7 separate regions of the Homo sapiens genome follow, and regions 1, 2, 3, 4, 5 and 6 are each linked to region 7. Evidence: promoter capture Hi-C in 16 types of primary human blood cells and fetal thymus (Javierre and others, 2016). All regions are on one chromosome and are shown on one strand. Each heading gives the region's core, a stretch centred on a gene start or on the middle of the fragment in contact. The rest is flanking DNA. Distances are from core to core; before and after follow the strand shown. Region 1 holds the start of CDKN3 (cyclin dependent kinase inhibitor 3). Region 2 holds the start of GMFB (glia maturation factor beta). Region 3 overlaps SOCS4 (suppressor of cytokine signaling 4). Region 4 overlaps MAPK1IP1L (mitogen-activated protein kinase 1 interacting protein 1 like). Region 5 overlaps SOCS4 (suppressor of cytokine signaling 4). Region 6 has its middle 1.8 kb from the start of CGRRF1. Region 7 holds the start of NAA30 (N-alpha-acetyltransferase 30, NatC catalytic subunit).

Region 1 (3,631 bases), core at 758-3,257, 3.0 Mb after region 7:
ACTCTGCCAAAAAAAAAAAAAAAAAAGGAAGAAGAAAAAAGAAAGGAAAGAAGTTAAGCCAAGGGCTTGTGTATTGAGGAACTGTGATATCAAAATAGAGATGGAGTAGAGGAGATGAAGTAGTTTTGCCCACCCCTTTTCTCAAAAAACATCCCCACATGGCCTAGTAGTTTGGTGGGGGTGGTGTAGGTGAAATAACCTGCCTCCAACTTTATGAATCACTAGACTAGAGAGATTGAGATAGACTTCGTATGCTGATCTAAGCAGTTGGAACTTAATCCTGCAGCATTTTGACATGGAAGACTTCTACACTCCTTGTTGAAATTTTAAGGAATCAAAAGAAAAAGAAAAACAAAAACAAAACAGAACAAAACCCATACCCTTTTCTCACTCCCTAGTTGAAACCAATTGAAAGATAAAGAAATGGAGTTTTATTATTGTATATCAAATGGAGTATGCAGCTTAAAGCTGTTGCCACGTGGGCTTGCCCCTTGTTCACCCCAGAATTAGACAAATGTATCCACCCAGTCACAGGTGGCCATGGACAGTCTGGGGCTCCTGTGTGCCAGAGAGTGGACCAGAAAGCACCTTCTGCAGGCAGGCAGGTAGATCCCAAGAAAGAAGGAAAGAAAAAGTTGAGATACTGGTGTTCAGTTCCTTCCAAACTCGGGGATCAGATAACTCAATGGGGACAGGTGGAGAAAGAGGCCAGGAGTGAAGGACAGCTGATGTCCCTCCACATGGCAACATAGGGATTAGCAATTGTAAGCACCTAATGCTCTTTCTAGCTCTGAAGCTATATTCTACAACGGTCTTGGTACTAGAAGATCACAGGACGGCTAATTTAGGCTACGGACTTTTTTTTCTTTCTTTCTTTTATCTTGAGATAGGGTTTTGCTCTGTCGCCCAGGCTGGAGGGCAGTGGCGTGATATCCGCTCACTGCAACCTCTGCCTCTTGGGTTCAAGCTATTTGCGTGGCTCAGCCTCCCGAGTAGCTGGGACTACAGGCGTGCACTACCACGCTCAGCTAATGTTTGTATTTTTAGTAGAGACGGGGTTTCACCGTGTTGGCTAGGCTTGTCTCCAACTCCTGGCCTCAAGTGATCCGCCCGCCTTGGCCTCCCAAAGTGTTGGGATTACAGGCGCGAGACACCACCCGGCCCTAGGCTATGGATTTCTGTTGCTTTGGCTCTATCTGAAGTATTATAATCAACTGCACCCAAAGGAAAGGCTTCCAGTAGGTTGTCAAGCCGGGCAGTAGGAAATATGGGTTAGGTGGGGGATCTTCAGCTCCTTGCCTGCATCTGTTTTTTCTTTAAAGCAACTTTGATGATTCATATTTCAAATTTGTGTGGCCCATTCACCAGGTTTATTAATCCTAACAGAGCTGGACGTTTCTGCTTCCCCAGGCCCTGTGATTCTGAACGTCACGGGAAAAGAGCAGCATTGCCAGGTGGCCCTGGGGCATGGTGACAGCGGTGGTGTCGCCCACAAGCCGCGGCGTGGCATTCGTACTCAAGGTTTCCCCAGGCCCTGTGGGCGCAGGTAGCGCCCGGCCACCCTTCGGGGCTGGGGTATCGCGCCCACTCATCGCTGACACTCAAGCTCTTCGGCTCGGTTTCCTCGGTACAACGAGGCTCGGCCCTCTTTGGCTGGGCGGCTGGGAGGCTTATGAGACCCCGCAGGGGACAGGTGACAGCCCACAGCAGGTGCACAGCGAATGTCCGTCTTTCCTTCGTCGGCCACCGACCCTGCTCCTTCGTCTCTCGTGCCCGTGCTGGGCCCGTGCGAGTCACCTCCCCGACCCGCAGAACGGTTACGGCGCCAGTCGCACTGCTACCAGGCTAGGGCTGCCCTCCGGCCCAGGATCGGGTCCCCGGGACCGCTTGCGTCCCTGCCGCCTCGCTCCTCCAAACCCCAGCACGTCCGACTCACCGGCTTCATCGCTGGCCGCCCCACGTCGAGACCAGTGCCGCCTCCCTCTGCAGCGCCGGCGACTCACCGGTGCCCCGGCCGAGCCCGCGCCCCGCAGCTTAGCTCACTGGTTCGTCCTTCTGTGAGGTGGGCGCGGCGTCTTCCAGCAACCAATCAGATCCGCTTCTGGTTTCTTACTCCGCCTTTGGGTGGCCGAAGACTCGGCCTCTAATCGCTGACTGGTTCCTAGAAGACCTTTGAAAGACGCGCGGGAGGCGGGCCCTGTGGGACGTTGATTGGCTGGGAGGGCGCCCTCCTCCCGCCAGTTGGGAGAGTGCAGGGGGCGGAGGCGGGGCGGAAGAGTCAGAAGGCGGCCCTAGCGCTTGGGGGACGCTGGAAAGCTTTGCTTCTTGATGGCAGGATGTCAGCGTGGTCCATACGGTTGGGAGGTGATTTTTTTTTTTTTCTTGAGACGGAGTTCGCTCTTGTTGCCCAGGCTGGAGTGCAATGGCGCGATCTCGGCTCACCGCCACCTCCGCCTCCCGGATTCAAGCGAGTCTCCGCCTCACCCTCCCGAGTAGCTGGGATTACAAGGATGTGCCACCAAGCCTGACTAATTTTTGTATTTTTTGTAGAGACGGGGTTTCTCCATGTTGGTCAGGCTGGTCTCGAACCCGGGTTGGGAGTTTTTGTGTTTGTGACGGAAGTCTTACTATGTTGCCCAGGCTGGCCTCGAACTCCTGTCCTCAAGCAATCCTCCCGCCTTAGCCTCCCTTGTAGCGGCTACGGTAGGGAGTTTTTGTTTCTTTAAGTTGTATTTTTATTTTTTATTTTTTAAGGGCTCAGGGAAGCACTGTATTGGATCGTCACATGAAAAACATCACATAGACTTTGTAATTATATCTAGACATACAAATACTAGGGAAAAAACTAAAAATTTAGAGTATAAACATATTTTATATGCTTGAAGTTTTAGTTTATCGTTCCAGAAACTAGACAAGTTACAGTGTAGATCAATATTCCTGTCCCCCAAATATGAATTAAATTATATTGTGTGAAAGGGAAATTATAAAATGCCAGGTAAGATAGGTCTAAGGGCCAGTGTGTCTACATAATTAGCTGTAATCTTTTAAAAATGTGAGTATTTCTCCGCCTTCTCCAGTCCCCATTTAACTAGCCATGGGAAAGGAAGTCGCCTGGAGCAGATCTGAGAAAAATATGCAGAAATTTCAACCCCTGATTCATGTTGTGAAAGCCAATGGGTATAGAGCTATTAGAAGGAATTCCTTAGTAAAGAAGGTACCACAGTTTGATTTAGAGACTGTATTAGCTAGTCATGGTTGCCCAGAGATAAAGAATGAATAGGATGTGTATATATGGATATAGAAACAGATTTATTTTAAGGAATTGGCTCCTGTGCTTGTGGAAGCTTGGAGAGTCCAAAATCTGATGGGGGGAGGCCAGTGCGCTGGAGACTCAGGAAAGGCTGTACTTCGAGTCCAAAAGCTGTTGTAGAACAAAGAAGAGCCAATATTGCATGTAAAGTCTGAAGGCTGTCTACTGGCAGAATTACCCCTTGCACAGGGCAGGGTCAGCCTTTTGTTGTATTCAGCTCGTCAACTGATTGGATGAGGCCCATCCATATTATGGATGGCAGTCTGCTTTACTCAACGTTTCCCAATTTAATGCAAATCTCATCCAAAAACACTTTCACAG
Region 2 (3,626 bases), core at 162-2,661, 2.9 Mb after region 7:
AGTGTCCCACCTTGGAGAGGAATGTTGAACAATTGATTCACAGCCTTGTTGCCGCAAACCAGACCATTGGGTGGCCCATTACTCAAGACAACCCTGGCAAACAGATAATGCTGACCTGCATAAACTACCCCTAATTTGTTGTGCTCTTTTAGGAGAGTCAGTCAGGGAATTCTCTCATTCTCTTATGCTGCCTCCCTTATGCTCCGGCATAAGCTCCAATGAAGCCTTGCCTGGAGAAACTCTTTTGGCCTCAGGTCAATTTGCATTGAGAGACCAAGAACCCATGGTCATAACAAAATGAGGTACTGCCCCAGGCAGTTTGTTTTATTGAAGGTACCTGTTGAATCCTAGAGCCTAAACTTTACTTCTCCCAAACCACTTTCTTCATGCATTCAAAACTGGACTTGTTCCACTAAGTCTGCATCTGGTACAGAGACTTCTTGATGTTTACTTAGGCAGTGGCCCATAAGAGTGCTCATTGAAACACCAATCATCATTCATTCATACTTCAATAAATAACTTGTATGGAGAAAAGAGGCTGGGCATGGTGGCTGACGCCTGTGATCCCAGCGCTTTGGGAGGCACACAGGAAGACTGTTTGTGGCCAGGAGTTCAAGACCAGCTTGGGCAATATAGGGAGACTCTATCTCTACAAAAAAATTTAAAAATTAGCCGGGTGTGTGGTGGCACACGGCTGTAGTCCCAGCTACTGGGGAGGCTGAGGTAGGAGGATTGCTTGAACCCAGGAGTTTGAGGCTGCTGTGAGCTATAATCGTGCTACTGCATTCCAGCCTGGGCAACAGAGCGAGACGAGAGAGAGAGAGAAGAAATGTGTGTGTGTGAGAGAAGAGAGAAGAAATGTGTGTGTGTGTGAGAGAGAAGAAATGTGTGTAAGAGAGAGAGGGAAAGGGGGAGGGAGAGAGAGAGAAAGAGAGAGAGAGAGAGAGAGAGATTGATTAACCAAGTCCTGGAAGGCAGCCGTGGTCAGAAGTGGGGTTCTGGAGAGGGTGGGAGGAAAGGAGGTGTGCCTAGATTTGAGGGAGATCAAATTTGGAAGGTAGGCTGCGGTCAGTACACACATTTACCATTGAAAACATTGATGTCACCATTAACATGCTCTCAGAGCTTGAAGACTGCGAAAAAGGTCCGGAGAACTGGCATGACTTTTAAGTATGCACCTTGGGTTTGTTTCTCACTTGCAGCCAGGCAGAGCGTCCTCCTCTAGAGGGAGCAGGGAAAAGAAAAAAAAAAAAAAAAAAAAAAAAAAAAAAATCAGGCGATCGCATTCTGTCTAATTTTGAGCCGCGCCTTTTGCCGTCCGCCATCACGTGCCGGCCCGCTGAGGCCGCGTTGATAGGTGGGGGCGACTGGGCCAGGCGCCGGGGCAGGAAGGGAGGCGGCCGCCGTGCCATTCTTAAAGGCGCCCGAGTGTAGGCGACAGGCCGCTGACGGCCGGAAGGAAAATGGTGAGTTGCCGCTGGGAGGGCGGGGGCCGGAGGGCTGGGCGAGCCGGCCAGCCGGGTTTTCCCGGTTTCCGGAGCCGGCGGCGGCGGGCAGCGCCCAGGAGGGCTCGGCGGCCGCTTCCGCTCCCAGCAGCTGGCCAGTGCCCATAGCTAGAGTACTTGGCCTCTGCCGCCGCCACCACGCCTCAGGGCAGCATCTTCCAGCTGGGCCCGGGGTGGACCCGCCCAGCGGGCCATGGGACTAGGGTGCGGCCACGAGCAGGGGGGTTGGGGAGGCCCCACGCCAGGTCCTTCTGGTTGGAGGGCTTCAGCTTCTGAGCTGTAGGTTGGAGGGAAAGGGGTCTGCCCCATCGGAGGGCTCCCTCAATTCCTGCTTTCCCTGCCAGGGCCGTGGCCAGGTTCCAGGGGTTGGTGGGCCCCGAGCATCTTCCACCTGGCGGCGTTTTGGGGGAGGACTCGAATTCCGATTGAATTCTCTCGGCCTCACCTTAGCTTCTTTCTCTCTGCTCCTTTCCCTAGCTTCCTACAGAGGATTTCTCCTTATCTTTGCTTTCCTATGGCAGTTGGAAACCTTTCGACCCAAAGCTTTGGCACTGGGCCTTAAAGTAATTGTCAATAACTTTAGTTTTGTTGGTTCTGGGGGCTGTGGCTTCTGTTCTTACATGGGATGGACCCCAAGCATAAAAATAAAGTGGAAAATTAAATAAATCGCCATCAAGGATCTTTTGGATCCATCCCATTAGGTTTTAAAATATGGGTAAATTTCATTAGAAACAACAAAACACTGCTCTCTGTGACCATCCACTCAATTCTCAGCCCACTTTCATCGAATAGATCTTGTCATGGTCACTGAATCGAATGGATTCTTTTCAGTTTTCGTCTTCTCTGACCTTTTAGCTGCATTCCAGAGTGTTATACTCTCTTGTTTTTGAAGCATTCTCTTCCTTCATTCTTCCCCTTTGGCTTCTGGGATACAGAGCTCCTCCTACTTCTCCTATTGGTCCATCTGTTTCCCTTTCAGACTATTCTCCTTTCCCTGGACAATGCTCGAAGGAGTCCCAGGTTTCATCCTAATCCTTCATTTTCCATTCTGTATTCTTCATCCTAAACTATGGCTTCAGTTACCATCTATATTCAGATGACTTGTGAATTTACAGCTCAGAAGACCTTGCTTCTGAGATCCAATCCAGATCTGTATGTACTTTTTTTTCTTTGAGTCGGAGTTTCACTCTTGTGGCCCAGGCTGGAGTGCAATGGCGGGATCTCGGCCCATTGCAACCTCCGCCTCCCAGGTTCAAGCAGTTCTCCTGCCTCAGCCTCCCAAGTAGCTGGGATTACAGGCATGTGCCACCACGCCCGGCTAATTTTGTTTTTTTGTTTGTTTGTTTTGAGATGGAGTCTCGCTCTGTCGCGTTGGTTGGAGTGCAGTGGCGCGATCTCCGCTCACTGCAAGCTCCGCCTCCCTGGTTCACGCCGTTCGTTCTCCCGCCTCAGCCTCCCGAGTAGCTGGGACTACAGGCTCCCGCCACCACACCCGGCTAATTTTGTTTTTGTATTTTTAGTACAGACGGGGTTTCACCGTGTTAGCCAGGATGGTCTCGATCTCCTGACCTCGTGATCCACCTGCCTCGGCCTCCCAAAGTGCTGGGATTACAGGCGTGAGCCACCGCGCCCGGCCCTAATTTTGTATTTTTAGTAGAGACGGGGTTTCACCATGTTAGCCAGGATGGTCTCGATCTCCTGACCTCAAGTGATCCACCTGCCCCGGCCTCCCAAAGTGTTGAGATTACAGACGTGAGCTACCGCGCCTGACCCCAGATCTATATATTAATATTTCAATATTTAGTTACCATTCCCCTGGGAAGCTTTTCCTCCACTTGGTCTCCTCAAAGCCACCTCAGTTTGTCCAAAGTAGAACTCATGCCCTTTCTCCTCAAACCTAGTCTTCTGTCTGTTATACAAGACAATCTGTTATACCAGCCAGAAGCCTAGTATATCTGGTAACCCTTTTTTTTGCTTACTCACACCCCACCCCCACCCCCAATATCCAATCTGTCACCACCTCCTTTGTAGTGGTTAAGAGAGTGAGTTAAGATAGGCTGCCTGGGTTGAATCCTGGCTCCACTAGCTATGTAATTGGGGAAAGATACTTAACCTCTCTAA
Region 3 (3,406 bases), core at 187-2,686, 2.3 Mb after region 7:
TATTTTAAAGTACGCTCCCAGGGTCACCTCTTGCTGAAGAATTAACTCCAGGAAGTCGAGTTACAAGTATCACCTACATTTTATAGGAAATAAAGGCAAAGATTTAGGACTGAGTCATCTGTTCAAAATTAGAAAGTAAATAAAAAAATAGACTTTGGTTTTATTTGAAAATCCCTTTCTATTGGGTTATATCCATTAATCTACATTTCAACTTCCAAGCCAATCTATTTTAAAAAGTTACCTCCATTTTGTGTCCAATATCTTACTGTATTAGAATAGTACAGGTAGACTCTTGCACTGCTCATTTCTAGTAGGCCATTAATAAAGAAAAGAAAAACCTTTGTGCTTTCTGTTCTTTCCTTAAATTACAAATGTAAAACTGACTTTTTTCCCCCAAAGTAGAAACAGTAGTTTGCTTGACGAAAAATCTTTTATTCACTTGGGCATTACATTACCTAACATTACACAGGCTATTTTGCTTTTAAACATTGTTTTCCTTGTGTTGTCTCCAGGAATCTCTTATAATTTTGTCTATTTTCCTGTGAAATTTGCTTTACCAAAATGAATGCGTAAGCTGTTTATTGGATTCTGACAATAGCTAAAAGCGACAAGAAATATTTTAATGAAAAGTAAGCGTGAGTTAGATCTTGGCCGGGCACAGTGGCTCATGCCTGTAATCCCAGCACTTTGGGAGGCTGAGGCGGGTGGTCACCTGAGGTCAGGAGTTCGAGACCAGCCTGGCCAATGTAGTGAAACACCATCGCTACTAAAAATACAAAAATTAGCTGGGCGTGGTGGCACACGCCTGTCATCTCAGCTACTTGGGAGCTGAGGTAGGAGAATTGCTGGAACCTGGAAGGCAGAGGTTGCAGTGAACCGAGATTGCGCCATTGCACTCCAGCCTGGGCTGACAACAGCGAGACTCTGTCTCAAAAAAAAAGAGATCTCAAGGTTTTTGTTTCATAGGAAGGAAGCTCTCTATTGCGTGGATCTATAAAATGATCCAAACTTCAGAGACAGGAAGCTGATAACTGGATTTATCTTCTTAATGGCTTTGGCTCATGAATAAATGATAATGGTTTATGTGTTTTTCTTATAAAAAGAAATGGAATTTGTATACCGATAGGAGTCCTACTTGCCACATTTGTTCTACTTATTAAGGGATTTCTAATTACTGAGACATTCTTTATATTATTTATAATAAGAAGTCAAAACTTTAACTGAAAGCCATTCTTTGACCACAGTTGGCCATTAGCTGAAATTCAGGAAATAGCACAGGTTTGATCACCAAATCAATAAATCTAGCCACAGGCTGACTAAAAGCTTCCTTTAATCTTCTTCCTATTAGGTCTTCCTTTAAATTAAACCATTCCCTTCATGAATTATTTAAGTGAATGGCATGGTTATAGAAAGATCACATATAACTCTATACAAAAATGCTAAAGGAACCTTAAAAAGTCCATTCAGCATACTTCAGGAATTATACTATGAATCAAGATGCTGTAGGCTTAGAAAAAAATGGGAGTGGGAGTATGTCCTGTAAAGCTTCAGAGAAAAATAGAAAAGTCAAGTTTATTTCCTGATTAGCCCAGGATGATTCCCAAAGCGCAGTTAAGTGTCTGGTCCAGACTAGCTATTAGCGATTAAGTAGTTTCTTTTCACTGTCAAGGCTTTTCCCTGAGGTAATGCCTAAATTCCTAATTTTAATATTTGATCTTATTTCTCTTAGCTCCATCCTCTCTCACCAATAAGCTCTCCACATTTCCACCATGCTAAATGCTTTCTCAACTCTGGAATTTACACTGTTCAAATCTTCCCTTTGTTCAACAGTTATAAAATTTTAGACAAATTTATACATTCCCACATTGTTCCTCTCAAAATTTACTCATTTATATAGTGCAATCAATATATTGTTTACATTTTATATAGGTTAGTTTCTGAATACTGTATGTTCTTCCAAATGTATCCTTACAAAGACACAGAGGAAGGGGGTAACCTTTCTGAATTCCAATTCCTTAATGTTTTAAAAAAAATTATTACTCTTTTCTTTTCCCTTAAACAATTCCCTTCTCAAGTCTTTATGTATCTACTTTCCAAACTTCTTTTCACTGTAGCAAATACCAAAGGAAAAATAAAAATCATTTCAGAGTCAATGAATCTCCTCCCTGCTCTCATTTATTAGATCAACTACTTCAAGGCTACATATGTGGCAGTACTTTTTAAGTGTTAACAGCTGTTAATACCTTGAAGTTGAAAAAATAAAAAAGCCAGAGAAAACATATCACAAGCAATCAGTTTGAATTATATGAAAAGGTACTTAGATCTTGACTTTCATATAAATACTAATTTTAACACTATAAAAGACAACATAACTATATATCATTTTTCTTTATAAAACTACCCCTTAACAGAATATTTGTAAGCTAGTCATCCCTTAGGTTTTTCTGTACTGATAAAAAGTTATTTTTAAAAGAAAAATATTTAAAATAATTGTTTCACAGAAACAGAAAATCTTATCAAATTCTGATAAAAAACTATAATCATGGGTACTCTTACCACACTATTTTCTTTCACCAAAGATGGATATTTAGGAAGTGGTATATTGGTTAATAAGATAAGCTTCTCAGTGATCTACAAAAGCGCCACAATAAAGATGAGGTAGTATGAGACTTTTCTAACCTTGTAAAAGGTAAATATCGTCTTTAGAAGAGATATTTATCCTGACATTGGTGTTATGATATCCGATATCCTGAGCCTCATCACTGCTAAGAGGTGCCATTTTTGTAGCTACATCTCATTGAGACTAAGACAATCTTGAGATCACTGAGGAAAAAAAAAATGCTAAAAGATAACGGTAATAGAGATTTTCCTTAATTTTGTAATAATTACTAAAAAATTATTTTAAAGCTATTATGGAAAAATGCCATTTTCATGTTAACAGAACTGCAAGATAGGGAAATGCTACTCACATAAAAGCAACAATAATGAAGAAATATTTGTTCTAACTTGGAAGTTTATGAGTCAAATTTCTTTCAATCTAGGTAGAAGCAGTTTCCTAATATAGCTAAACTAGCATCAAGAAATCAGTTACGATATTAAAAATGTCAATGTGTACAAAGGGTTAGACAGCTCACCAGAAGAAAATTGTCTATCTACATTTATTATTCATTGATTCCTTAAAAAAAGAAGATAGGATACCACTCCATTTATTTTTACTAGTTACTTTGGGCTAAAGATGTTTCTAAAAACGTTGCCCTGTTTCTGGGATAGTAAATTTAAAATATCACCCCTTTTGTCCAGTACTGTTCTGTATGGTGTAAGTCATGTAGCTGTCAAAAGGCTTTCTTTTTTTGAAGCCACATTACAGACTAAGTTAATTCTGAAGATAGGGATAATTATTTGGATC
Region 4 (3,341 bases), core at 141-2,640, 2.3 Mb after region 7:
TTGCTGAGAGGGTTTGCGGAGGAAGGGTGGTTTCCAGATATCCTTAGTGAATGCAGGTCACATGCAAAGAGGTATCTCAGGCCCTTTTTTCTTCCTTTTTGACAACAAATTTACAGTTAATTAGGCTCTGGACTTGCTCAGAGAAGCCCAGAATTGGGCCTAAAGAATAAAATAACATGAAAAATCTGTGAAACCATGAAAATACATTTTTTAAAAAAAGTTTCCAGGTATAATACACAAAAGCAAACAAGTTTATCTTAAAAAATACCAAGTATCACATCCATAGCCTATTCCTAATTATAATTACTTCTTAAAGCAACATTTGTCTTTGTTTACAAATACAGCAGCAGGTGATAAAACCTAGTATCTCAAACTGATTGCTTACAATTTATAATACAAACATATGTATATGTCTCAAATCACATTTTAGGCAGTTTAACTTAAAATGCATAGACAATTACATACATTAAATTTGTCATTACTGTCAGTGAAAAATCACAATTTCAAGAAGAAAATTACAACAAACTCATAGAGCACACATAAGAAGTCAAGTTCACTTAATGGCAACAAGTCAGTATCTGCTGATCAGTGACAGGCAGTGAAAGTGCCTTTATCCAGGGGTAAAGTGAAGAGGCAAACTATCCTGTTACTTTGCACACTTGAATTGTTGCGCTGATCAACACTACAATCTTGAAAAACATTAAATTCTTAAAAAAAAAAAAAGGCATGCCACATGTCACCCTTTAAGATGCCCAAAGGCTGGTTACAATTTCCACCAGTAGTGATCCTAACACGTTTAGGTAAAACTAATAATGAATGGGTATGCTAACAAATTCTGTAATGTTACTTATAGACTATGAGCCTCTCAAGGACAGGGATTCCCTTATAGCTGGCAAAGAACCTGGATCAAGGACATATTGTCTACTGAATAAATGACTCAGATGTTTTCGACAGCCAGAAGCTTGCCTGCCATTTACAAAATACTGATTATTTTATTGGCAATTTCTGTTTTACTTGGCAGAAATCTGAAAATAAAAAGTGTTTGTCTTCAATACTAAATATTGCTTTATTAAAATCAAAGTCTTCCCTGAACGCCACCTACAACTTTCTATGCATAGTACAATATATCAGTGTGATTTATCTGAATTTAGGCTTATGCTTTTCAAAAACTTGAATGTCTGTGCTTAAGTTTTATTTCCAGGCTTTCTAACCTTGGCATTTGATAAAGCTAGCTTCTATCATTCAGGGTGAGAAAATTGAGACATTGGCACTTATTGTTTAGAAGTGTAGGCAATTGACTGATATTCAACCCAGGCACAGTCTTGACAAAAACTCTGAGTAGAGCTTTTTTCATCTACAGTTTCAAAAGCTGTATATTTGAGAGTACCCCAGGTAGCACTAATTATTTGTGAGGTAATCATGGGCAAATTGATTGGTTTTTTAGAAAATATCCCAATAGTCCATTGTGGTGGTGGGACTGACTGAGGCAAAATATATACTTTTCTCTGCCCTATTACTATTCTCTACTGAAGACAACCAACAGTAAAATGCACAAAACAGTCAGTCCTTGGGTAATTAAAAAATGTATTGTCTATTTCTGAATAATCAATATATTACTTTACACAAAATAGGGCTGAGTCAGAGCTGTAAATGGTGTCTTCAAAAGCATGAAAAGATGAGAAAGTGGCAGGATGGGACAGACAAGCCAAGGTCTTTGAAGTGCTCCACTTGATTCTTGAGAACCGGGTGTGAATGACGACCTAAGGTCTATGTTTTAATTTTTGTCTTTTTGGTTTCAACATTTCAAAACCTAAGCTTCCAACTCCAAGAAACAGCATTCCTGAACACCTCAACTATTTCCATTAGATTTGAAAATTCTTCCTCTGAAGCCCAAATGTCAGCATATTCTATAATCTGTATCCCCCTCAAGACCAAATATACTTGCTAACAAGCAGTCTTTTCCATAAATCAGTTTCAGCCTAGCATGTCTTGTTTTGAAAGCAACATTGTTCCCTTTTAAAAAGAAAAAAAGGTCACGCATGGTGGCTCACGCCTGTAATCTCAGCACTTTGGGAGGCTGAGGCAGGCGGATCACGAGGTCAGGAGTTTCAGACCACCCTGGCCAACATGGTGAAACCCCCGTCTCTACTAAAAATACAAAAATGGGTGTGGTGGCGGGCACCTGTAATCCCAGCTACTTGGGAGGCTGAGGCAGAAGAATCGTTTGAACCTGGAGGCAGAGGTTGCAGCGAGCCAAGATCACGCCATTGCACTCCAGCCTGGGTGACAGGGCAAGACTCTGTCTCCAAAAAAAAAAGAAAAAAGGAAAAAAGCCTTTCTTGATGCTGTTCCCCATTTCTCCACTAAAACGCCTGCTTTTCTTAACTCCACACCGAACCAACCTGAAATATTTTGGCCCAGAATGCCAACAAGAATTGAAGAAAAGATGCTTTACAAAAATAACAATATAAAAGCAAATTATATTATCCCTTTTATCTCCATTCTTACATTAAAAAAAAAAAAAAAAATCGGCCGGACGTGGTGGCTCACGCCTGTAATCCCAGCACTTTGGGAAGCCAAGGCGGGCAGATCACGAGGTCAGGAGATCGAGACCATCCTGGCTAACACAGTGAAACCCCATCTCTACTAAAAAAAAAAAAAAAAAAAAATTAGCCGGGCATGGTGGCGGGCACCTGTAGTCCCAGCTGCTTGGGAGGCTGAGGCAGGAGAATGGTGTGAACCTGGGAGATGGAGCTTGCAGTGAACCAAGATAGCACCACTGCACTCCAGCATGGGCGACAGAGCGAGACTCCGTCTCAAAAAAAAAAAAAAATCTCCCCCAAATACCAGTTGCAAAGTCCTTGAAAACAAAGGGAGTACAATAGCAGTATGATTTAGGGCACACTGGACAGTATGGGTCACTAGCAAAATTATTATACTTATAGGGAGTAATAATCCCAAATTGTGTTCATGGCCCTTCAAATCCTTTAGCAACAGATTTTCTCCCAAAATCAATGGACTTCATAATTATAGATTCCCAAACCTGCTATCTCTTCTTCCTACTCAAATTATATTTGCTCCAGTGTTAAACTAAATACTGCTAATTTGTCAGCTTATCCCAATGTAGGACAGCCAAAATAACTGTAAGGAGAGCTATCTTTGCAGCCATCTCACTTTTCACATTACTTTATCCCTCCATGGTTAACTGACATTTTGATATTGATAATTCAAGCCAAGGCTACCTGCCTTGTAGACTAAGGGGGCTACTTTGACAACAGAGTTCAACAGTATTGTAGACAGCTAACACCTGTCCTTGAAGAGAAGTGAAAGAAAAAGCTAAC
Region 5 (3,289 bases), core at 37-2,536, 2.4 Mb after region 7:
ATAAAGAATAATTCAGTATACTACATTAATAATTCACAAATATATTATTATTCTGGTAGTAATTAAGCCTGGGGACTTTCCCTACGAAATTCATGATTCCAAAGTTTACCTGCCATCATGTGCCCAAAAACTCCTTGAAAGCATTCTGATCATAGTCCTTGATATTTGAGTTGGATTCTGTAGAAACACTTAGGCTCCACAAACGGAAGTCACTGGAGAGCAGACAACAGATGAACTCCTTGGAATGTTAAGAAAAAAATCTGAAAACAGGTTTGTTTGTATGGGAAAATATCTGACCTAAAAAACAAATGTTTTCTCATTACAGAAGCAATACAGGTTCATTTTCCAGTAAATATTTTAAAGTATCTCCTTTTTTCATGCTACTGAGCCAGGGCTCATGGGACTTAATTGCAATTTTCTAAAAAAGAATCATTGATTTAGTAGCACTACACCCTCCTTTCCCTTTCTCCCCACTTTTTCCATGCTTTCCTAATTATAGTTTGCTTATGTCACTTTTCCCCACTCTGTACTCTTGTGGACACTAGTTCTGAAAGATGTTAACACATATTCTGGAGAAAAAAAGGTTCTCTTGTCAAATAAGTTTGGGAAATGCTTCTTCTCTCAAAGATTACAGTGCATATTTAGCAAACGTTCCCAGGAGATCCTTCAGTAAAGAAATCTGCATAAACCATAGCTTCCTGTCTTTACTTTGCCATAAATCCTTTTGTGGAAGAAAGTTTGGGGAAACATTAATGGGCTAATCTGTTAACATCAGTGTACATTCCCTAAGCTTATTAGCTAAAGATAAGGAGAGAGGTCTAGGAACCCATCACTGAAGGGGCTAATCTAGAGTGAAGAAAGCAGAAACTACGAGCTGGCAGTACCTGAACTTCTAAAAGCAGAAGGAAGATTAACAGAATTTAAGAAACAGAATATTTAAGATATAATACTGAACCATTTTATGGAATAAATTAGATTGAACAGATTTATTTTTTCTTCCAATCTGTAATTTGTTATGATAAAAACAATATATGCTCATTGTATAATACATGGACCATTCAGAAAAGTTTAAAAAGGAGGGGGAAAAAAGCTATAATTCCATTATTTAAAAGCAAGCAATTTTGACATTTTGGCTTATTTCCTTGAATTCTTTTTTCTTGTGAGACCAATTAAGCATAAAGAGAAAATTTTAAAGTTTTAAAGATCTGTAAAAAATTAACAACCTACACTGTTTTTCACTATACCATATTTGAAAATAAACATGGTGAAGATGAAATAGCATGAGCTGCTGAACTGTCAAATGTGGGCTACAATTCAGACTTTTCCACTCACTAGGTATGTTACCTGGTTTAAAAAAATCTAATTTAGCTTAAGTTCTCCCACTGTAAAATCTGGATAATGCCAGCTACCTCATGTTTTTACTGCCAGGAGTAAAAGGTATGAAAACAACATACACTGAACTTAATGAAAAGAAATATTAACTGCTTCCTAGTATTACTCAGAACTTTTCATGTTAGAAGAAGTACATTTCTAAAAATGAGAGGTGGGAACACTTTTTTTAAAGAACACTATTTTTTTAAGAAAAAGGGGAGGGGAAACAAAGGCTATATGTAAGGCTAGAAAATCTGCACAAAAACGTGCCTCAGAAATCTGAAGTCAAGGAGGCTCTTCCATTTCTGAAATATCACAAAGCACTTTATATTATTCCTGATGTTAAATATATTATTTTTAAAAAGTTTTAAATTCTTTAAAACAAAAAATTGTAGTTTTTTAGAAGCTTAGTAAATAGATTTAAGTAGAAACAGGCAAAGATTTTATAAGATTGTATTATATTTTCTTCACTGCTTTATAACAATTACATATGCTTACATTTAAGGTTGGGTAACAAGTTTTACGTACAAATTAGTAAAAGGTGACTCTACACTTTATGTTTTACTAAATTCTAAGTTTTGTGGCAACAGCTATGATTTGGAGAATCAGTGCGGTAGACTACCTTGGACTAGGTGAAAGACCTGGGTTCTATTTCTAGCTCTGACATTTCGCAGGTGTGTGACTAGATAAAGACTAGATAAATCACAACTTTTCTGTTTTTCTATCTATATAACACTGATTATCTCATCTTGCTGTAGTAAGGATCTAGTGTTAATGTAATACAAGAATCAAATACTGGCTGTCTTTAGCCAGGGGAACTGGATGGCTGGGAGTATGAGTAGGAGGACGACTTTTACTGTATTGCCTTTTATATCATATTAAGTATACATACAGACAAGTACTATTTACCCCAAAATTATTAAATAGGCTAGTAAGTTTCAGGACACATTTGGAAATATAAAAATCTTCACATTTCTAAAGTGCCTTCAATGTTTCTTTTTTCAATACTTTGGTCTCCTTGGCTATTGTTACACTCTTCTAGCCTTACCTTTCACAAGATTAATCATTTTTACACCAAGTACATATTTTACTAGAAAATAATTTTTTAAACTCCTTCCATAAGCCAATACTGATATATCCTCTTAGATAAATCCTGTAAGATCACATGATTTTATATAGGTAATACCATCATTGGTAGAATGGCAATGTACCCATGTTTTCTCACCCAATTGTCCTTGGGAGCAAAAATATTTGTGAGTCTAAGGGTAGTATGAGTGGTTACAACACAGCAAAGCTAACTAACCATCACTGCAATTCAATCTGTGACTTTGGCATCATTTTCAGTCAGTTCATTTAGCCACCCACACCTATGAGATAAGCACTGTTAATGACAAATAACTACATTTGGAAAATTTTTGATACTCCTATCAGTGACACAGCTACACTGATTTCTTTTTAAAAAACTATGTTATTTTAACTAACTAGACAATTTTGCTAATATTTAAGTTACACATCTTTCATTACTGCACTATCATCTTGATCATATTGTTTGAATGTCTATTTCCCTCAGCAAGACCATAAACTCACTGAAGGTATTACAATTTGTAGCCATTTGACTGAAACAAATGGAATTGTGAAAACATGATACTAGCAAAAACAAGAATACATTTTTTAATATTTGAAAAATTTACTGGATAATTATTTAAACAAATCCCACTTTAAACAAAAAACACTAAATACCCACCCAAAGCACCCCTTTAGTAACATGAGATATTAATAACAATTACTTTTATACATCCATGAGTATCTCCTATATACTCTAACAATGCGACGGAGGTAGGTGTCATCTCCATTTTAGAGATGAGGAATTCGATTTTCAGTAAAGGAACATATTCAAGGTCACACAATGTGTCAGTTA
Region 6 (3,273 bases), core at 99-2,598, 2.9 Mb after region 7:
CGGGAGCTGGCGTGCCAATCACGGCGCCCCCTGCCGGACACGCCACGCCCCTCCCGCTCCCGTCCCGAGCTATTGGCTACGCAGACCTGGGATGGGGGGGGCCCGACTCGCACCGCCCCCGACTCCCAGGATTGGTACCCAGCGGGCGTCTTAAGCGCTGTGGCCCAGTGGTCATTGCTGTTCCGCCGGCAAATTCTAAGTAGACTTTGGGGCCAACTCTGTGCCAGCCTTAGGCAATGTAGGTTTTCTGATGTCAGAGAGAGGCGCAGTCTGAAATCTACGTGCATCGTTTCTAAATCCTGAAACCCTGCCTATTATATCTTAGGCAAATTTGGGAGAGGGTGGAGGAGGAGGAGGAGGAGGGCGGGCATCTTGGATTCTACAAAATGAAATAACCATAAGCACAGTGAAAACACAAAAAAAGGAGTCTCTACCACAAGCAATTTATACGAGACTTGTCAGCCTTTTCAGATTGGACTTAATCATAGAGGAAAATCAGCATTGCTTATCCAAGATTCTCTTAGAAATAAAGCATCCGCTTCCTCCCACATCCCCCTCCTTTTCTCCTCTTCTTGTACTCCTCAAATTAGAATTAGCCAAACATTTGAAACTGTATTTGTTTCCACTTTAAGAATAATTTTTAAAAAACTTTTTAAATCACACAGAAGCTTTTTAAAAATTACTGAAAGTAGCTAAATGGTCACTCCCTTGTCTCAACCCTGTGAGTCAGCTCCATCAAGGTGGCCTCCCTGAAAGTCTTTCATAACAGTTCATTGACACCTCGTTGGTTTGCATTTACTCCTAAAGCCACATCTAGCCACATCAGAGAATGGGGATATGTAGTCTTATTATTCGTGAGCAGCAACACACCCTGGTACAAATCAAGAGTTTTGTTACTGAGGAGGAAAGAGAATGGACATTGGGATAGTTAACTAGTAGCCTCTGTCACACTCCTAAATCACCAGTAAAATTCGTGTTGAGAAAGATGAACTAAGTTTGTCCTATGGCCTCACATATTCCTTGGCAAATGAGCACGTAGTCTCTGGAGCAGCACTGTTTGAGAAGCTTGCTTCTACAACACAATTTTTAATTACTATATATCTGATTTGTGAAAATATATACTTTAATCAGCCCTCAACTGTTGGAGAATTTTTCATTGCTATAAATAACACTGCAATGAACATCCCTACAGCTAAAGTATTTCCTTAGGATAAATTACTAGAGGTGGAACTATGGTTTTAAAAAATGTACATTTTAAAGATTTTGTAAAAACACTGCTCTCCAGAAATGTACCAATTTGTATTCCCAGTTTTTCATCCACAGTTTTGCCATCATTTGATATTGTCACTTAACAAAAATATTGGCCAATCTGAAAGGCTCCCTTCTCCAGCAAGCCTTCCTGGATGCTTCCAAACCCTTGGGGAGATGCCTCTCCCAAAGCACCCAGTATGTAACTGTATGGGAGCCCTCTTATTTCTGGTGTGAGCACCTGCTCACTAGTGTATTTAGCCTGCTAGGAACCCAGCTCTCTGAGCACAGGAATGACACATAATTGATGTTTGTGCCACCGGTACCTAGTATATGTCGGGTAGTCATATTACTGAATTAATAAATAAATGAAATAAGCTTTTCTCCATGAGATTACTTGGAAGCACAAAGTATCTATATTAGAGTTTTTTAAAAAAAAGTTTGACTCTCAGATGAACAGGAAGAATGACTGTTCTTTATTATCTATAACTGATCTAGTTTAGCTTGAAACCCCACCCTAGACCCAGCATGGTGGCTCATGCCTGTAATGCCAGCACTTTGGAAGACCAAGGCCAGCACTTTGGGAGACCAAGGCAGGGAGATGGCTTGAGCCCAGGAATTGAGACCAGCGTCAGCGACATAGTGGGACCCTGTCTCTACAAAAAATTAAAAAATTAACTGGGCGAGGCAGAAGGATTGCTTGAGCAAGGGAGGTTGAGGCTGCAGTGAGCCACGATTGTGCCGCTACACTCCAGCCTGGGTGACACAGCAAGACGCTGTCTCAAAAAAAAAAAAAAAAAAAGCAAAGCAAGAACCTGTCTCAAAAAAGAAGAAAAAGAAAGAAGCCCCACCCTACTATTAGACGGGGTAAAAAGAGAAGACAATGTGAGCTTAAATTTATCAATAAAAAGTATCTTAGGCCGGGCATGGTGGCTCACGTCTGTAATCCCAGCACTTTGAGAGGCTGAGGTGGGCAGATAACTGAGGTCAGGAGTTTGAGACCAGCCTGGCCAACATGGCAAAACCCCATCTCTACTAAAAATACAAAAATTAGCCCAGCATGATGGCGGGCACCTGTAATCCCAGCTACTCAGGAGGCTGAGGCAGGAGAATTGCTTGAACCCGGGAGGTGGAGGTTGCAGTGGGCTGAAATTGTGTCACTGCACTCCAGCCTGGGCGACAGAATAAGATTCCGGCAAAAAAAAAAAAAAAAAAAAAGTATCTTAGACTCTTCAAGTTTAATTGCACCTTTTAGGAAGCTGGTCTCCTTTAGGAAAATGTTTAGTCTCTCCTCTCTCTTCTCTTGATTCTTCCCAAGACAGTATCTGATTGTACAAGGTGTTCATATGACCTGATGGTGGAGGTCAGGAAAATGAGACCTCAGCTCTGCATGACACCTGTAGGTCCTCACTAAGGGGAAGCGGGTTTCATCTGGCTTTTTGTGGTACCAGGCCAGCCCTCACTGCGGAGATCCAGGGTTCCAGCCATTTACCTCTGGTTGTAAAACCCTCATAAGCTATGGCTCCTTAGCTCCACTAGCTCACCAGACTGCTTACCATCTCCAATGTTACTTACTGGGGCAATATGTAAACATGTAGATTCTCACATATGTCACATGCAGGCTACTGAGAAGCAGCAGTTATCTCAGGATGCCCAATCAGGCTACCTCTGCCACTGAATGCCATTGCTCTAGCACCATGGTGAAGGTGGTGTGAAGCAAGCCAAATGTAAGGCCTCTCCTCCTTTCCTAGAGGGAAAGTGGACTACCAGCTCCGATCTCTTCAGTTTCTCCAGTACCCCACCTATTTGTTTTTTAATTTTTTTTTTTTTTTTTTTTTGGAGACAGAGTCTCATTCTGTCGCCCAGGCTGGCGTGCAGTGGAGCAATCTTGGCTCACTGCAACCTCCACCTTCTGGGTTCAAGAGATTCTCCTGCCTCAGCCTCCCGAGTAGCTGGGACTACAGGCACCCGCCATCATGCCTGGCTAATTTTTGTATTTTTAGTAGAAACGGGGTTTCACCACAT
Region 7 (3,418 bases), core at 856-3,355:
TTTCTGTAGTAAAATTCAACAGAAACAATATGCTTGTGAGCACATGATACAAAGCATACACCTGCAGTCAACGTTTAAGTTAAAGGGTTCATACAGACTGAAATGGGTCAATATTATTGTGAAGAAATTACTGGTACTGCCAATACTATGTTAATTTTTAAAAACCGTCCAAAAGTCTTTCACTTACGTGTAATATTATTGTCAATTATACTCTACACAAGCCAGTGTTACTAGTGTTTGGCCACATCTACAACCAGTTTCTTAAATTAAAAAAAAAAAAATCAGATCGGTAACAATTTCACACAAGTTTTCTACATTCCACAAAAGGGTATTTTGTTCAAGTTTCAGGAGTCTTTCAGCCACCAGAAGTGTTAGTAGCGCTTTCTGGAATGGAGTACCAGAAAGCAGGCTGGCTACAACTGTTAATTGTCCAGTTGAAGTAAAGAGAAACATCTCCATAATTACCGAAAATGCTTGTAAGATTTAATTCTCCAATATGACCACACCAAGTTTGCTGACATCCATGTTCACCACAACATGTTTATGCATACACTCTTCCCTGATTATGGTTGTAATCGAGAGACTAATAAGGCCTGTATCTGAACAGAACCATGTTCAAATTAAATGACTGTAAAGTGTTTGAGGATGCGGGCGGGTAATTAAAGACGGTTAAACACGATTATAATCTAATGTAAACAAGACACAAGACCCCCACCCCAGTGAAACACGCCACCATACAGGCTTGCTGCAGTTACACTAGTATCACGTTAACCCGAATCATGAAGTCTTACCTTCAAAACAATTTCATTAAATAACTAGGAATGTGTACAGCACTTGACATCATATAACGTACTATGATACGCAGCAGGAGATATCCACTGCCACATTCTGGGCCCTCACTCCCTGCCCCGCACAGTCTCGATCACTGCTGGGTTCACCCTCTTTTTATTCTATCCACTTACCAAGAAGCACAGCTGTGGCCAGTTGTGGATAAAATATCTATAGGTATAAATGGAGTAGGGTTCGGACAGATCTTTGGTGATCAGTCTCATGATATCGGGCATTTGTAGCTCGGATTCATATCGGACATATCGTATCGTCCGATCCTCCCCAGGCTCAACCTCCCTGCCCGAAGGGCTTCTTAAGCTGCAGTCGGCGGTCAGGGACGAAGACAGCAGCCGCACCTGCTCGTCTTCCTCCTCCTCCTCCTGCTCGGTGCCCTCGGCCAGTCCATTGCGGGCCGCCGCGGGATCGCTCGCCGCCGCTGCCTCCACCGGGCTGGGGACCGCAGTTCTTGCATTACTAGAGAGGGAGTGAGGGGGCCTCTCGCCCGAGTGTACCCCGGCTCCTTTTGTTGCAGTCGCTCTGGGGCCTCCGTCAGGGGTGGCTGTGGTCGCGGCCACCTCTGCTACGCTCAGGACCTTGCTCTTGAGGGAGGCGGCCGCCCGGAGGTGCCGCAGTTCGGGGCTAATCAATCCGTTGAGCTGCTGCTGCTCCTGCGGCGGCTGAGGGCAGCGGAGGCACGGATGCCCCTTGGCCGCCACCGTCGCCGACTCTCCGCCCGCCGGGCTCCTGCTGCCGCCGCCTTCGTGCTCTTCGTCGTCCTCCTCGTCCTCGCTGCAGCAGGCGAGGGCGGCCCCCGCCGGGAAGGGACAGCGGGGCTCGACCGCCGCCGGGGCCGGAGGTGCTGGTGGTGGGAGGAGGCTGCTAGGCCCAGGCGGTACCTCCGCCATCCTAGAAGCGACACAGACCGAGAGGGGAGGCCATGAAACCCGGCCGAGGAGCGCGGAGAACAGGGGGCGACGGATGGGGGGCGGCCGAGGTGGGGGGAACAAAGGCAGAAACCGTCCCTCACGGAGCTGCCCCCCAATTCCCCGCCACCCCCCCGCTCTTCAGCGCCGCCCAGCTGCTCAGCCGGCCACCGTCCCCGTCCGCCCGGGCCCACCCGCCAGCCCTGTCACTCGCGGCCCCTCCTCACGGCTCACCCCGCACGGGTCCCCGCCGCCGCTGCCGCCACTCCTCTTCCTCCGCCACCGCCGCCGCCTCCTTCGCAGCCGCGGCAGCCTCCACAGCCGCCAAGGTTCTCACTCAGCCGCCGTCGCCGTAAAGCGCCTCAGCTGTTAGGCCGGGTAAAGTTTCCTGGGCCTGGCTTTACGACACTTCCCTGCCTGCCGGCTGCCCGGGCCAAGAGAGAGGGGCGTGGAGGGAGGTGACCTGTGGAGGGGCGGGGACAAAGGTGTCTCCTGCGGGCTGCGGGGAAGGCCGCGTGCTAGTGGGTGGGGCTGTGGGGCCGGGAAGTTGCAGAGGGCTTTGGAGTCACAGGCTCCCAAACCCTCTTCCTCGGTTTGGGGGCGCCTCAACCTGCGGTGCTTGCCACGCGGGGCCGGGGAGGGATGGACCGGGCAGGCGCTCCCTGCTTAAAGTCTACCGCGCACTCCGAGCTGTAGCGAATCTCGCCAATTCGGGGCCTGTGGAACAAGCCGTTTACAAGTCACCTAAAAATGCCCTTTTAAAGCTGCACAGCGTTTAATGTTTGCCCTGACCAGGGGCAAGGAGGATGGGGGAGGAGCGATTAAAAATGGAGCAAATCAGAGAAGCCGACCGAAAAAGAAAGGAAGATTTGAGCTGTGAAAATATGGGGATGGCTGTCGAAACGTGGTGGTTTGCAGTGTGAATTAAGTTCAGCTGGCCCTTGCCACTTTGAGGCAAGGGAGTCAGCCCTCTTCCTCTCCCTCCTTACTCTGCTCCTCGCACCCAGTAAAATTGGAGGCAAAAGTGACTGACAGGTGTTGGGCAATTGCTAGCACACCTGGGGAAGGGTTAGAGAGAGGTGGTGAAAGAGAGTGACCAGGGCTAAGAAGCACACTCCTAAACTTGTGACACAAATAGGTTAGGAAGCACTGGTAAACAGGTGGCCTGATCCTCCCAGGGGATCTGCCTATCGAGTGCAAAGGGGATAGAACTTGAGCTTGTGGCTGGGCGCCTTCTGCTCTAGTCCACAATTGACTCCCGGCAGGTCTGAGCTGAGACAGGTAGTGTAACTCACCCGCTCACTGAACAAATTCGGTTTTGTTAAAAACCTGATTTATAGAGCTGGTCTGGTGTGCCGCAGATGGACGTTTTCAATATATAATTCTATGACGGAACACGTTTGCAACTTTTTGCCGTAATCTAAACTCTATGTATAAAGTATTTATTATGCTCGCAGATTCTGTGCCTCTGAAATCCAGACAGAGCACAACTGGGATGGCTTTTCTCTACTCCATTATGCGTAGAGCTTCAGTTGGAAGACTCTAAGGCTGAGGAGTAGAATTATTTGAAAACTTCACTTTCACCGCTGATGGTTGATGCAGGATAAAGGCTGGAGGCCTCAGTTCTAGTCCATGTAGACCTCTCCCGGTGGTCTTTTAGCATTGAT

What was found. The method cuts DNA at HindIII sites, captures the fragments that hold promoters and counts their contacts. A CHiCAGO score of 5 or more calls a contact.
Region 1: a contact is called between the fragment with the promoter of CDKN3 here and the fragment with the promoter of NAA30 in region 7, in 6 of 17 cell types (activated CD4 T cells, naive CD4 T cells, fetal thymus and 3 more). The highest score is 6.8, in activated CD4 T cells.
Region 2: the fragment with the promoter of GMFB here is called in contact with the fragment with the promoter of NAA30 in region 7 in 1 of 17 cell types (non-activated CD4 T cells); the score reaches 6.9 in non-activated CD4 T cells.
Region 3: a fragment that was not itself captured here is called in contact with the fragment with the promoter of NAA30 in region 7 in 2 of 17 cell types (fetal thymus and non-activated CD4 T cells); the score reaches 8.1 in fetal thymus.
Region 4: a contact is called between a fragment that was not itself captured here and the fragment with the promoter of NAA30 in region 7, in 1 of 17 cell types (fetal thymus). The highest score is 7.3, in fetal thymus.
Region 5: a fragment that was not itself captured here is called in contact with the fragment with the promoter of NAA30 in region 7 in 1 of 17 cell types (fetal thymus); the score reaches 8.1 in fetal thymus.
Region 6: a contact is called between a fragment that was not itself captured here and the fragment with the promoter of NAA30 in region 7, in 1 of 17 cell types (non-activated CD4 T cells). The highest score is 5.1, in non-activated CD4 T cells.

What each region holds. Positions count from the first base shown.
Region 1 is chr14:54,395,383-54,399,013 of GRCh38, reverse strand. CDKN3 (cyclin dependent kinase inhibitor 3) reads right to left here and starts at 2,007. Exons shown (of 8, transcript NM_005192.4): 1 at 1,937-2,007. The coding sequence starts at 1,945. The HindIII fragment of the contact is 7,211 bases long and covers 1-2,318 here.
Region 2 is chr14:54,486,765-54,490,390 of GRCh38, reverse strand. GMFB (glia maturation factor beta) reads left to right here and starts at 1,411. Exons shown (of 7, transcript NM_004124.3): 1 at 1,411-1,466. The coding sequence starts at 1,464. RefSeq lists a silencer at 1,329-1,728. The HindIII fragment of the contact is 2,730 bases long and covers 1-2,050 here.
Region 3 is chr14:55,045,463-55,048,868 of GRCh38, reverse strand. SOCS4 (suppressor of cytokine signaling 4) reads right to left here. Exons shown (of 3, transcript NM_199421.2): 3 at 1-3,406. Among named protein-coding and RNA genes, the nearest start is that of MAPK1IP1L, 4.5 kb to the left of the region's middle. The HindIII fragment of the contact is 222 bases long and covers 1,326-1,547 here.
Region 4 is chr14:55,066,393-55,069,733 of GRCh38, reverse strand. MAPK1IP1L (mitogen-activated protein kinase 1 interacting protein 1 like) reads right to left here. Exons shown (of 4, transcript NM_144578.4): 4 at 1-3,341. Among named protein-coding and RNA genes, the nearest start is that of MAPK1IP1L, 16 kb to the right of the region's middle. The HindIII fragment of the contact is 854 bases long and covers 964-1,817 here.
Region 5 is chr14:55,028,812-55,032,100 of GRCh38, reverse strand. It overlaps SOCS4 (suppressor of cytokine signaling 4), which reads right to left. Exons shown (of 3, transcript NM_199421.2): 2 at 110-238. Among named protein-coding and RNA genes, the nearest start is that of SOCS4, 3.2 kb to the right of the region's middle. The HindIII fragment of the contact is 987 bases long and covers 793-1,779 here.
Region 6 is chr14:54,506,509-54,509,781 of GRCh38, reverse strand. No RefSeq gene overlaps it. Among named protein-coding and RNA genes, the nearest start is that of CGRRF1, 1.8 kb to the left of the region's middle. RefSeq lists a silencer at 1-215. The HindIII fragment of the contact is 561 bases long and covers 1,068-1,628 here.
Region 7 is chr14:57,389,273-57,392,690 of GRCh38, reverse strand. NAA30 (N-alpha-acetyltransferase 30, NatC catalytic subunit) reads right to left here and starts at 2,105. Exons shown (of 5, transcript NM_001011713.3): 1 at 1,986-2,105; 2 at 963-1,734. The coding sequence starts at 1,733. RefSeq lists silencers at 1,578-1,727, 1,858-1,997 and an enhancer at 1,126-2,121. The HindIII fragment of the contact is 6,905 bases long and covers 1-3,418 here.